Linked DNA regions of Homo sapiens: region 1 is linked to region 2. Evidence: promoter capture Hi-C in 16 types of primary human blood cells and fetal thymus (Javierre and others, 2016). All regions are on one chromosome and are shown on one strand. The core of a region is centred on a gene start or on the middle of the fragment in contact, and the rest is flanking DNA. Distances in the headings are between cores, read along the strand shown.

The links. Contacts are between HindIII fragments. The CHiCAGO score rates a contact against its expected background, and 5 or more counts as called.
Region 1: a contact is called between a fragment that was not itself captured here and the fragment with the promoter of ASH2L in region 2, in 1 of 17 cell types (fetal thymus). The highest score is 5.2, in fetal thymus.

What each region holds. Positions count from the first base shown.
Region 1 is chr8:38,771,735-38,778,659 of GRCh38, reverse strand. It overlaps a transcript of TACC1 not described here. Among named protein-coding and RNA genes, the nearest start is that of TACC1, 12 kb to the left of the region's middle. The HindIII fragment of the contact is 2,473 bases long and covers 1,796-4,268 here.
Region 2 is chr8:38,100,856-38,107,416 of GRCh38, reverse strand. It overlaps ASH2L (ASH2 like, histone lysine methyltransferase complex subunit), which reads right to left and starts at 1,888. Exons shown (of 16, transcript NM_004674.5): 1 at 1,679-1,888; 2 at 973-1,039; 3 at 251-396. The coding sequence starts at 1,866. RefSeq lists silencers at 1,501-1,700, 2,031-2,120, 4,302-4,590 and an enhancer at 1,791-1,920. The HindIII fragment of the contact is 22,171 bases long and covers 1-6,561 here.

The DNA.
Region 1 (6,925 bases), core at 1,783-4,282, 670 kb before region 2:
TTTAAGAAAAATGCTAAAGGACCCCATGAACACAGTGCTAGGGCCACACTAGTATGAAGGGGCCCATGCAAGGGAGGGGACTGAAGCTTAGGCTTCCTCAGCTTCATAGTAAATTCAGCTCTGCCCAGAGAACAAAAGAGATTCCTGCCTGTGGCTCAGGAGTGGTTCAGCTGGCCTCAACTCAGTAAGTGAAATGTCCATTTATGGAGCGAGGGGGTCACACTGACCTCTGTCTTCTTAGAGGAAACAAAAATATTTAACTGTTGGAAACTGGATAAAACTGTCAAAAGATATCTCCTACACAGATTGTGAAACATAATTCATGGCTCTGTTCCTTCTGTACCCATTGTAAACACACACATACACACACACACACACACACACAATTTTAATTATTAAGATAAAAAAGCAAAAGGCCAGGTGTGGTGGCTCATGATTGTAATCCCAACACTTTGGGAGACGAAGGCAGGAGGATCGCTTGAGCCCAGGAGTTTGAGACCAGCCTGGACCACACAGTGAGAGCCCATCTCTACACACATGCACACACACAAAGATAAAAAAGAAAAACTATAATGCTTCTTTAACATTGTGTGTCTATGCACCTCTACTCTTTGAATTTCCACAAGATCACCATGGTAGAGCCTAATTCCCTCACCCCACATCCTGTATCCATCTGTATCCATCATTTCCTTATTTCTTCTAGCAAAAGAACCCTCTGAATTTTTGCTGAGCACATGGTCACACAGCAAGAGGCCACGTTTCCTTCTCTACAACTAGGTGTGGCCTGTGACTCAGTTCTCACCCATGGGATGTGAGCACAAGGGGTAAGTGCAAATTTGGGGCAGTGTCTTTTTTTTCTCTTTTAGAGACAGAGTTTTGCTCTATTGTCCAGGCTGAAATGCAGTAGTGTAATCATATCTCACTATAGCCTCGAGCTCCTGGGCTCTAGCAATCCTCCCACCTCAGCCTCTTGAGTAGCTGGAAATCCAGGTGCACACCACCATGTCCAGCTAATGTTTTTTGTTTTGTTTTGTTTTGTTTGTAGAAACAGGGTCTTGCTGTGTTGCCCAGGCTGGTCTCAAATTCCTGGACTCAAGCAATTCTCACCCCTTGGCCTACAGAAGCAGTGGGATTATAGACATGAGCTATTGTGCCTGGCCCCTGGGCCAATGTCTTTAAAAAGAAAACTGCATGTCCAGCCTCTCCCGGCCGAAAAGTTGTGAACTGCGTGTCACAACTTCTGCTGTGTGAGGACCACACTCTGGACAGGATAGAGCCACAGAACAGACAGAACCCGCACCAGGCTGACTGGGGAGCAGAGCAGCCTGCGGCCCTAGACTAATTGCTGCCTGAGGACTGTTCCATGAGAGAGAAAAGTCTATCTTCTCTTTTTTTTTTTTTTTTGAGATGGAGTCTCACTCTGTTGCCCAGGCTGAAGTGCAGTGGCGTGATCTCGGCTCACTGCAACCTCTGCCTCCCGGGTTCAAGCAATTCTCCTGTCTCAGCCTCCAGAGTGGCTGGGATTACAGGCTCGTGCCACCACACCCAGCTGATTTTTGTATTTTTAGTAGACATGGGGTTTCACCATGTTGGCCAGGCTGGTATCGAACTCCTGACCTCAGGTGGTCCGCCTGCCTCAGCCTCCCAAAGTGCTGGAATTACAGGCGTGAGCCACCGTGCCCAGCCTAAAAGTCTATCTTCTTTATCAGACTGTGTCACTGGGCCCCTTTGTAACAGCAGCCTCATCTCCACCCTCACATTACAACCTCCTCTGGGGGATTTCAGCATCTAAGCTTCCTTAGATGAAGGTATGGGAAGAACCTGCCTTAAATTTCGTTCTACATTCTTCTGAACAGGATTACATGAAAGTTCCTTCAAAGATGGAAGCATTTTTAAAAATGATAAATCTACACAGGTTGAGCATCCCTAATCCAACAATCTAAAATCCAAAACGTTTTGCTTGTCAACATGACACCACAGTGGAAAATTCCACACCTAATTTCATGTGGCCAGTCACAGTCAAAACACAGTCAAAACTTTGTTTCATGCACAAAATTATTACAACTGCTGTTTAAAATTACCTTCAGGCTATGTGTAGAAGGTGTATATGAAACATAATGAATCTCATGTTTAGACTTGGGTCCCATCCCCAAGCTATCTCATTATGTATATGCAAATATTCCAAAATCTAAAATCTGAAACACTTCTGGTCCTAAGCATTTTGGATAAGGAACACTCTACCTGTATCTCAATGATGTCTTTTCTCAGGGCAGAAAATTCCCGAACCAAAAGACTCAAGCCTGCCCCGTGGATGATGTCCTAATTATCCTAAAAACAGGACTGAGACTACCCTTCCTTCTGCCGTAATGACTTGAGCTGTGATACTGACTTTCTAGAAATTAGGCAGTTGCATTTTTAAAGATGACTGATGTGGACAAAAACGTTGAAGAAGGAGGGAGTCAATATTTAGATTTCACAAAGGCCAAGTAGAATGGATTTACATATTGATGAAGGTTATTATTTTCTTTGGGGAGATTTCCTTGAAATAATATGATTGTATAACTCCAATATTTGCCCAATTCTAAGGATAAATAATAACAATAATAAATAATAACTGACCCAAATCCTATAAGTGAATTAATCATTGTTCTTTGGCTTCAACACTAACTGGTGCTAGTGACGATTTCTAGCACACACACAAAATATTTTTAGAAATTGTTTTCTTATGGGCTCAATTAGTCAAGTTATTTTGTTGTATTATTTTATAGAACTATGACAAGCAAGAGCGAGTTTATCCTTACCGGTCTTCCCTGTACCTCATCATGTATGATATAGGAATATCTTATGTGTTTTCTGTTTCCTTTGGCCAAGGCATAGACACTGAGCAGAATATATTTGTTTTACATTATTTTCTGAACAAATGATAAATCACTGCTACAGACTGACTGTTTATATCCCCCCAAAATTCATAGGTTAAAACCTAAACTCCAATGTGAGAATATTAAGAAGTGGGGCCTTTGGGAGGTGATTAGGTCATGAGGGTTCTTCCTGGGGTCAGCGCCCTTATAAAAGAGACCCCAGACAGCTCCCTCTCCCTTCTTCTGCCAAATGAGGACACAGGGAGAAGACATCCAGGAGGTCAGCCTTCACCAGATGTGGAATCTGCTGGTCCCTTAATCATGGGGACCTCCATCCTCCAGAACTTCCAGAAATAAATGACTGGTTTATAAACCACCCAGGCAATTATATCCTTATAGTAGCCTTAACAGACTAAGATAATCACTGACTCCTAACCTAAGCATCCATCTCAGATCTCATAGAACCACAGAAATTTTTAGCTGGAAAGGACCTTTGCCAAAGATCACTGGGTCGAATATCATTCTTTTTGGAAGAAGGTTTACTCAGGCACCAAAGTGCACAACTAGGATTCATAACCCTTGCAAGGAAGGTATGAAGGTATGAATTCTGGAGTTTCCCCCCAGCCCCAAAAGATATGCCCACTTGGTATGTATAATAGAGATATGACTTCTCCCCAAAATTCACCTCATTTTAAAAGGCACTGTAAATTGTTTTATAAAGCAAATACATACAAATAGTCTTGTACTTTGTTTTAAAAGTTTTTGGTTTTCATTTTTTTTTTTTTTTTTTTGAGACGGAGTCTCACCGTGTCACCCAGGCTGGAGTGCAGTGGTGCGATCTTCGCTCACTGCAACCTCTGCCTCTGGGGTTCAAGCGATTCTCCTGCTTCAGCCTCCCGAGTAGCTGGGATTACATGCATGTGCCACCATGCCCAGCTAATTTTTGTATTTTTAGTAGAGAGGGGGTTTCACCATGTTGGACAGGCTGGTCTCGAACTCCTGACCTCGTGATCCGCCCGCCTCGGCCTCCCAAAGTGCTGGGATTACAGGCGTGAGCCACCGTGGCTGGCCTTTAAAAATATTTTTATAGCCTAGGCAACATAGTGAGACCCCATCCCTTCAAAAACAAAAACAAAAAAAAATTAGCCTGGTGTGGCAATGCACACCTGTAGTCCTAGCTACTTGGGAGGCCAAGATGGGAGGATCATTTGAGCCCAGGAATTCAAGGTTGCAGTGAGCTGTGATGCTACCACTGCACTTCAGCCTGGGCTATAGAGTGAGACTCTGTCTCAAAACAATAATAAAAAATGTATTTTTAAATACCTTTAGTGTTTAAGGCAAAATAATACATATGTTCATTCATTCATTCATTCATTCATTCATTCCACAAATTTGACAAATGACCAAGCTTTGCCAGCCTCTGCTGAACACTGTGTTGAACAAAAGAGACCCAGTTCCTGCCCTCATAGAACTTGCATATTAGTGAGCTTAGTAAGCCAACAAATAAATATGTAATATATAAATTGTCATGTATGAAATATAAGAACTGCAGGGGGCTCTGAGAATGGCTGGTGGACGGCATCGGTGGAGATGTCAAGGGAGGTTGCTCTGAAGGAGTGACAGACTGAAGCCTCAGGGATAGGCAGAAGCTGCCTGGGTGAAGTGTAGGGTAACAGCGTTCCTTCATCAAGACACTAAGGACAGAAGCAGCCTCCAGTTTTGAGTAAGCGTGGTTGAAGAGCAGCTGCTGGAGGGAGGAGAGGGGCTTAGGCTGGTGAAGTGGGAGAGGCACAAGGCATGACAGCCTAGAAGACCATGTTAAGCATCCTTGTCTCTGAAAAAGTGAATTTTTGACTACATAGGCAGTTCAAAGAAGAAAGAAAAACCTGCCCATAGTATTGTCTTTCATAAATAGCCACTGTTAAAATGTTGGTGAGCTAGATATACCCTTTTTTCCCTCTTTTTCAAAGTACTTTTTACATCTGGAATTGAAATATTTATGTTTTTCTATTAATATTTATAATCTGTCTTTCCCTACTAGACATAAGCTCCATGAACACAGAGTACCTTACCTATCTTGTTTCTTCTGCTCAATATTTGATGACTGAATAAAGATTGCAAATCTCTCTCTTACATATACACAAGCATGTACTTATTTGGACAAATGGAACAACAGATAGATAGCTAGATAGATAGCTAGATAGATAGATAGCTAGATAGATAGCTAGCTAGATAGATAGATACTTTTACACAAATAGTGAATAAGTACTTTTGGCAAAAGACAATATGTATGTTTAAATATTTATTGATTTTATTAATATTTACCAGTGTAAATATTAATGTTTATATTATATTAGTATTTATTTAATATAAATATTAATATTTAAATATAAAAATTTATATTATATTAATATTTTAATTTATTTGATATGCATATTAATATTTATGTCAATATTTAAAATAATGAATTTTTTTTTGAGACGGAGTTTTACTCTTTCATTCAGGCTAGAGTGCAGTGGCATGATCTCGGCTCGCCACAACTCCACTTTCCAATTTCAAGCAATTCTCCTGCCTCAGCTTCCTGAGTAGCTAGAATTACGGGTGCCCGCCACCACGCCAGGCTAATTTTTGTATAATTAATAGAGATGGGGTTTCACCATGTTGGTCAGGCTGGTCTCAAACTCCTGACCTTGTGATCCACCTGCCTCGGCCTCCCAAAGTGCTAGGATTACAGGCGTGAGCCACCGCGCCGGGCCTAGTGTTTATTAAGTATACGTTTTGTCTTTTGCTAGAGGTGAGTACTTATTCAGGTTAAGTATTAATACAACAATAAACCTTAATTATTAAACCTTAATATTATAAACCTTAATACAAACCTTAATCAATAGAGGTGAGTACTTTATGCATGTTTAAATATTTGTTTTATTAGTGTTTATTTATATTAATACATAAAATTTATTGATATTTAATGTTAACAAGTATCAATTTATTGTTTATATTAATGAATAGTAATATTTAAATCAACACGTTAATATATATGAATATTTATTTACATTTATTAACATTTAACAAATTAATATTTATTGATTTAATTATACATATTATCTTTTGCTAGAGGTGAGTATTTATTCATTATGCCGCTTGTTTTCTTCATAAGGTGCTGCTCCCCATGGATGAAGAGGAAACCAGGATGTGCAGCCAAGACCCGTCCTGACCCCTCATTGGGATCTGCCTCTCTGCAGAACCCACATGTGCCTCCTTCTCTTCACTGCATAACATGCCTTTGTGTGTCTGTACAGAATTTGCCTGACTTGCTCCCCATGGAGGGATATTTAACGGGTTTGCTGTTCCTCATTATAAATGAAACCGTGATGAGCAATCCCATGCATATGCATCTTTTCACACACTTAAATTTCTTTTCACACACTTATCTTTTCTTAGAGTAAAATTCTAGAAGTGAGATTGTAGTGTCAAAACAAACACATTTTATATTTTGATACACATAGCCAAACTGCCCTCTGGAAAGGCTGTACTCATTCACATTTGTAAACACAGTATATGAGACAGCCTTTCCCCTAAACCTTAATCAATACTGAGTTCGGTCAATCTTTTAAAACTGTCAAATGGGTGAAATGATAAGCCACCACCAAGGACTGCTGGTCTTATTTGAACACGTTTATTTCTGAAGTTTGAATGTGTTTTAATGGATTTATTGAAGCATTGCCTGCTTGCCTGCCTTCCTTCCTTCCTCTCTCTCTCTCTCTCTCTCTCTCTCTTTTTCTTTCTTTCATATATGGAGTGTTTAAGTCTTTTGCCTTAACAGCAGTACTGAATGTGTGGTCCCTGGGCCAGCAACATCAGCATCACCTGGGAACACCTTAGAAGTGCAAATTATACAGCCAGGCATGGTGGCGTGTGATTGTAGTCCTCACTACTTGGGAGGGAGGCTGAGTTGGGAGGATCACTTGAGCCCAGGAGTTGGAGGCTGCAGTGAGCTATGATTGCACCACTGTACTACAGCCCATGCAACAGAGCAAGGCCCTGTCTCAAACATAAATAAAGCAAAT
Region 2 (6,561 bases), core at 639-3,138:
CTCCAAACCAGGTTGTCAACTCAAAAGGAGGGGCAATACCCACCATTGTATCTACCAGAGCTGTGCCCTCAGTAAGCAGATAACATGCTAAGGGAATTAAAACAACTCCTGATTCAACATCCTACTTGCTGAATAGGGGTTAGGAGACATAGGAAATACTTTGCATTTATTTTGCCCACAAAGTAACTGTTGAGCATGTTCAGATTTATTTTACCGAGCAATTCTCACAAAAACTATGAAAAGTACTCACGAGGTATCTATGCCAAATGTGTCAGCCGTGAACCATTTTGTACAAATCCCACATTGCAGCTCTACCTCACCCAACTGTCGGCCATTCTCTTCATCCACGGAGCCCGCCTGAGTATCCATCACCTCTGATGTATCCCCAGCACCTTCCTGTGTCAGAGCAGTTCGAGACTCAAATCAGTTGACTTGAATGTATTTTACTTTATTTTATTTTTTTAAGAGACGGGGGTCTCCCTATGTTGCCCAGGCTGGTCTCAAGTGATCCTGAGGTCTCAGCCTCCCAAAGTGCTGGGATTACAGGCATGAGCCACCGTGCCTGGCCTGAATGTATTTTTGATTCGCTTAAAAATGTAAAAACAAGGCCGGGCGCGGTGGCTCACGCCTGTAATCCCAACACTCTGGGAGGCTGAGGCGGGAGAATCAACTGAGGTTAGGAGTTCGAGACCAGCCTGGCCAACATGGTGAAACCCCGTCTCTACTAAAAAGACAAAAAAAAGAAGCCAGGTGTGTTGGCAGATGCCTGTAATCCCAGATACTCGGGAGGCTGAGGCAGGAGAATCGCTGGAACCCGGGGGGAGGAGGTTGCAGTGAGCCGAGATCGCGCCACTGCATTCCAGCCTGGGCGACAGAGCAAGGCTCCGTCGCAACAAAAAAAAAAAAAAAAGAAGAAGAAGAAATAACTAAAACAAACCCTATTTTGTCTTGCAAACAACTAAAAATACTTACTAGTGTATCTTTTCCATTAGATGATTCTGTCTCCAAGCCACCGCTTACATCGACCAAGTTTGCCTCCCTATAAGATAATGAAAGCGCTCAAGTAAGAATTCTCAAGACAAACCTCAAAATGCCTATTCCCAAAAATGATGATCAAATTACAGCCGAACTTCATACTCCTGCAGCTTTTTCAGCTAAGCCTGATCTCAGACTGGATGCCCAAGGTACTGTCAGGATACTGAGAAGGTGGACATGTCAGACAGTCGCGGACCCACGGAGCACAGGGAAGCCTAACCGGCCTTTACAGTCAAATCTACCTGGGTTAGAGTTGGTCCTGGGAGAGGTTCAAAGAGAGGCAGCTCTCCCACCCTGTTTTCAGAGTGACCGTTACTTCTTCCAGTCTGGCACTGCAAAGTGGTTTCTTTTCTGGAATATGTGAAGGCCTCCCGTTAAAGTGTGAGCTACCAGCTTCCTGCCAGGGTGCAAGGATCAGAGATAACGACAGGAGCCTCAGCTCCCACCGCCCGTGAAAGGTGCGGAAGGGGCGTTATCCGAGATATGCTTGAGAGGGGACGGGCCAAGCGGCGCAGAGGCAGGGCGAGCCATTGGCGGCGGGGCCTGGGTTCGCAGGGGGCGGGCGGCAGGGCTCCAGGAGCCGCGGGATTCGCGAGGGGCGGGCCTCCCTCCCGCGTCTTCCTCGGGCGGCAGGACCTCTTACCCGCCTTCAGCCTCCCCGGAACTGGGCTCAACTGTCGGAGCAGCAGAGATCCCCTCTCCAGGAGGAGCGGCTGCTCCCGCTGCCACCGGCTTCATCTCCCCCTCTTCTGCCCCTGTTGCATTTGCGACCGCTCCTGGGCCAGGCCCGGCACCCGCTTCCTGGCCAGGTCCTGCTCCTGCCGCCGCCATCACGGCCACCCCTGGACTTCTCGCGAGAATACTCTCTTCTCTCGCGCGCGTTGCTGTGTGACGCTGTAGTCTTCAAACAGAAAAAGCCCGCGGTGCGTCCACCGCCTGCCTGAGGAAGCATAATTCCACGACCGCTTTAAGGCCAGGCGCGCGGGCAGAGGTGGGCCGGCCTCCCGCGCCGGCGGTGGCCGCGGGCCTGGCAGGCTGAAGGTGGAGGAAGCTAGATGGTTAGTGCGGCTCTCTGGAGGACTTCCTTTCGAGTCAGGGACTGACGCGGCGTATTTTCGTGGCTACGACTGGATATTCTGCGCAGAAGAGGGTCCTTGAGAGCGCTGGCCGTGCCGTGCCGCCAAACACTCCTCACCACCGAATGTGGGAAACGTCTTCCTTGGAGTCTAGCACTCCCTGCCCGCCCCGGATGGAATTTGGTTTTCTGCGCAGGGTCGCCCCTTGGAGCCCGTTTCCAAATGATTTTAAGAGGGAAGGGAATCTAGGGAGGCCGATTCCAGGGGCGAGGGTGGAAAACCCAGGCCGGGCAGCCGAGGAGCGGCGTGGGCACTAGAAGCGGCTCGCCGCTTCCTACTGTGAGAGGCGGAAAGCGAAGCCCCGGGGTGTGCCGGGGCACTCGGAATGTAGACAAGTTTGGTGCCCAGCGAAAGGAAGAGGTGTGGACTGAAAGTACGAACTTGGGAAGTCATCAACAGTAGCTGGTGGCTGGCATCAGTGGAGTGAGTTGAGTCTTTCAGAGCCATGGTCTCCAAACTCGAGAATGCAAACCTCTGAGAGTGTTGCGGCCAGGAACGTTTTCAGGACACCAGTGTTTATCCTATATCCTAAAATGTTGCCTAACGATAATACACTCTTCTCCCGCTTTACACAAGAACGGCGCACCCCTCGCCAATCCTCAGTCTAATCTTACTGTGATGTGTCCACCGATAGTGTAGGAATCTCTGGGCCACTGGACGCCATGGGAAATACGTAGATATTGATTTCCCAATTGGTTCTCAATTATTGGTTTTCAACAAAATTGAAGAAAGACCTAACTGAGTTGCCAGGTTACATTTTTAAAATTGATGATAAATACTTAAATCAGGGGTTGGTACTCCAAAGAGAAGCAGGATGCTTGATCTAAGTATCTCCTCCCAAATACGTAGTATTGTAGCAGTTTTAACATATGGTCGCAGAATTTTGTGTTTTCTTGTTGTTGTTTGTTTGAGACAGAGTCTCGCTCTGTCGCCCAGGCTGGAGCGCAGTGGCCCGATCACGGCTCACTGCAACCTCCACCCCAGGTTCAAGCGATTCTCCTACCTCAGCCTCCCGAGTAGCTGAGATTACAGGTATCTGTCACCACGCCCGGCTAATTTTTGTTAGTAGAGGCGGGGTTTCACCATGTTGGCCAGGCTGGTGTCGATCTCCTGACCTCAAGTGATCCACCCACCTGGGCCTCCCAAAGTGCTGGGATTACAGGTGTGAGCCACCGCGCACGGCTTTTTTTTTTTTTTTTTGAAACGGAGTCTCGGTTTGTCGCCCAGGCTGAGTGCAGTAGCGCGATCTCAGCTCACTGCAACCTCCACCTCGCGGTTTCGGGTTCAAGCGATTCTCTTGCCTCAGCCTCCCGAGTTGCTGGGATTACAGGCACGCGCCATGACGCCTGGCTAATTTTTGTATCTTTAGTAGAGACGGGGTTTCACCTGTGTGTTTTTTTTTTTTTTTTCTGAGACAGAGTCTCGCACTGTCGCTCAGGCTGGAGTGCAGCAGTGGCGGCATCATACCTCACTGCCGCCTCAAGTTCCCCGGGTAAAGCAATCCTCCTGCCTTAGCCTCCTGAGTAGCAGGGACTATAGGCACGAGCCACCACGCCCAGCTAATATTCTTTTTTTTTTTTTTCTTTTTGAGACGGAGTGTTGCTCTGTCGCCCAGGCTGGAGTGCAGTGGTGCAATCTCCGCTCACTGCAAGCTCCACCTCCCGGGTTCACACCATTCTCCTGCCTCAGCCTCCCGAGTAGCTGGGACTACAGGCGCCCGCCACCGCGCCCAGCTAATTTTTTGTATTTTTAATAGAGACAGGGTTTTTGCCGTTTTTTAGCCAGGATGGTCTCAATCTCCTGACCTTGTGATCCGCTGCCTCGGCCTCCCAAAGTGCTGGGATTACAGGCGTGAGCCACTGCTCCCGGCACGCCCAGCTAATTTTCTTAATTTTTAGTAGAGACAGGGTCTCATCATGTTGCTCAGACTAGTCTCCAACTCCCGAGCTCAAGCGATCCTCTTGCCTGGGCTTTCCAGCGTGCTGGGATTACAGGAGTGAGCCATCATGCCTCCACACAAATTCTTTAATACCCCCCTCCCCTTGATTGTGTGGGCTGGACTCAGTGACTTGCTTCTAACTAATAGAATGTAGAAAAAGAAAATAACATGGCCAGACGCGGTGGCTCATGCCTGTAATCCCAGCACTTTGGGAGGCCGAGGCGGGCGGATCACCTGAGGTCAGGAGTTCGAGACCAGCCTGACCAACATGGAGAAACCCCGTGTCTACTAAAACTACAAAATTAGCCAGGCGTGGTGGCGCATGCCTGTAATCCCAGCTACTCAGGAGGCTGGGGCAGGAGAATCACTTGAACCCGGGAGGCGAGGTTACAGTGAGCCGAGATCGCGCCATTACACTCCAGCCTGGGCAACAAGAGTGAAACTACGTCTCAAAAAAAAAAAAAAAAAGAAAAAAATAGTAATTTTTATTTTTTATTTATTTTCTTTTTCCTCTTGGTAGAAAATAGTAGTTTTTACGGTGCAGAAATGGGCGAACACACCACCTTACCCAAGTGGTCAGGTTAATATAACCAGTTAAAAATTATAGGCCGGGCGCAGTGGCCTACGCCTGTAATCCCCGCACTTTGGGAGGCCGAGGCAGGTGGATCACGAGGTCAGGAGATCGAGACCATCCTGGCTAACAAGGCAAAACCCCGTCTCTACTAAAAATACAAAAAATTAAGCGGGCGTGGTGGCGGGCGCCTGTAGTCCCAGCTACTTGGGAGGCTGAGGCAGGAGAATGGCGTGAACCCAGGAGGTGGAGCTTGCAGTGAGCTGAGATCGCACCACTGCACTCCACCCTGGGGGACAGAGCGAGACTCCGTCTCAAAAAAAAAAAAATTATAAATATACCCCCCGATATACAATGAGATGGCAACTTCATCTCTTTGGTATTCCCCAAAATCCATAATCCAAGTCTAATCAAGAGAAAGCATCAGATGAATCCAAGTTGAAAGACATTCTAGAAAATATGTTGGCTGGGTGCAGTGGCTCATGCCTGTAATCCCAGCACTTTGGGAGGCCAAGGCAGGAGGCAGGAAGATTGCTTGAAGCTAGGAGTTCAAGACCAGCCTAGGCAGCAAAGCAAGACCCTGTCTCTATAAATTTTTTTTTTTTTTTGAGACAGAGTTTTGCTCTTGTTGCCCAGGGTGGAGTGCAATGGCGTGATCTTGGCTGACTGCAACCTCCGCCTCCTGGGTTCAAGCGATTCTCCTGCCTCAGCCTCCTGAGTAGCTGGGATTACAGGCATGCACCACCATGCCCAGCTAATTTTGTGTTTTTAGTAGAGATGGGGTTTTTCCATGTTGGTCAGGGCTGGCCTGGAACTCCCGACCTCAGGTGATCCACCTGCCTCGGCCTCCCAAAGTACTGAGATAACAGGTACCCACCACCACACCAGGCTAATTTTTTATTTTAGTAGAGACGGGGTTTACCGTGTTGGCCAGGCTGGTCTCATACTCCTGACCCCCATGTGATCCACCCACCTCAGCCCCCCAAAGTGCTGGGATTACAGGCGTGAGCCACCATACCTGGCCAGAAAATTAAAACTTGAAAAAAAAAAAGGTGTTAGTGGTAGATCACCATAATCTGACATAGAACTTTTTTTTTTTTTTTTTTTTTGAGACTGAGTTTTGCTCTTGTTCCCCAGGCTAGAGTGCAATGTGACGGTCTCAGCTCACTGCAACCTCCACCTCCAGTGTTCAAGAGATTCTCCTGCCTCAGCCTCCTGAATAGCTGGGATTACAGGCATGTGGCACCACGCCCAGCTAATTTTTTGTATTTTAAGTGGAGATGGGGTTTCACCATGCTGTCCAGGCTGGTCTGGAACTCCTGACCTCAGGTGATCCACCCGCCTCGGCCTCCCAAAGTGTTGGGATTACAGGCATGAGCCATTGTGCCTGGCCCTGACATAGAACTTTGAAGGAGTTCAAAGAATTGAGTTCCATTGCTTCATAAATCCTGGGTGGGAAAATGCTAATTTATGTAAAGAAAAGTTGTCAGCTCTTTTATCTATAAAAATGAAAAATGCTGGGTGTGGTGATGCATGCCTGTCCCAGCTATTCGGGACAGGTGAAGTGAGAGGATCTTGAGTCCAAGAGTTGGAGGCAAGCCTGGGCAACATTAATGCAAGCAACATGGTGAGAACAAGTCTCTTAAAAAAAAATGAAAAATAGGCCAGGCATGGTGTCTCACTCCTGTAATCCCAGCACTTTCAGAGTCCGAGGTGGGTGGATCACGAGGTCAGGAGATAGAGACCATCTGGCTAACACGGTGAAACCCTGTCTCTACTAAAAATACAAAAAAAAAAAAAAAAAAAAAAAAGGTTAGCTGGGTGTGGTGGCACGCGCCTGTAGTCCCAGCTACTCGGGAGGCTGAGGCAGGAGAATCGCT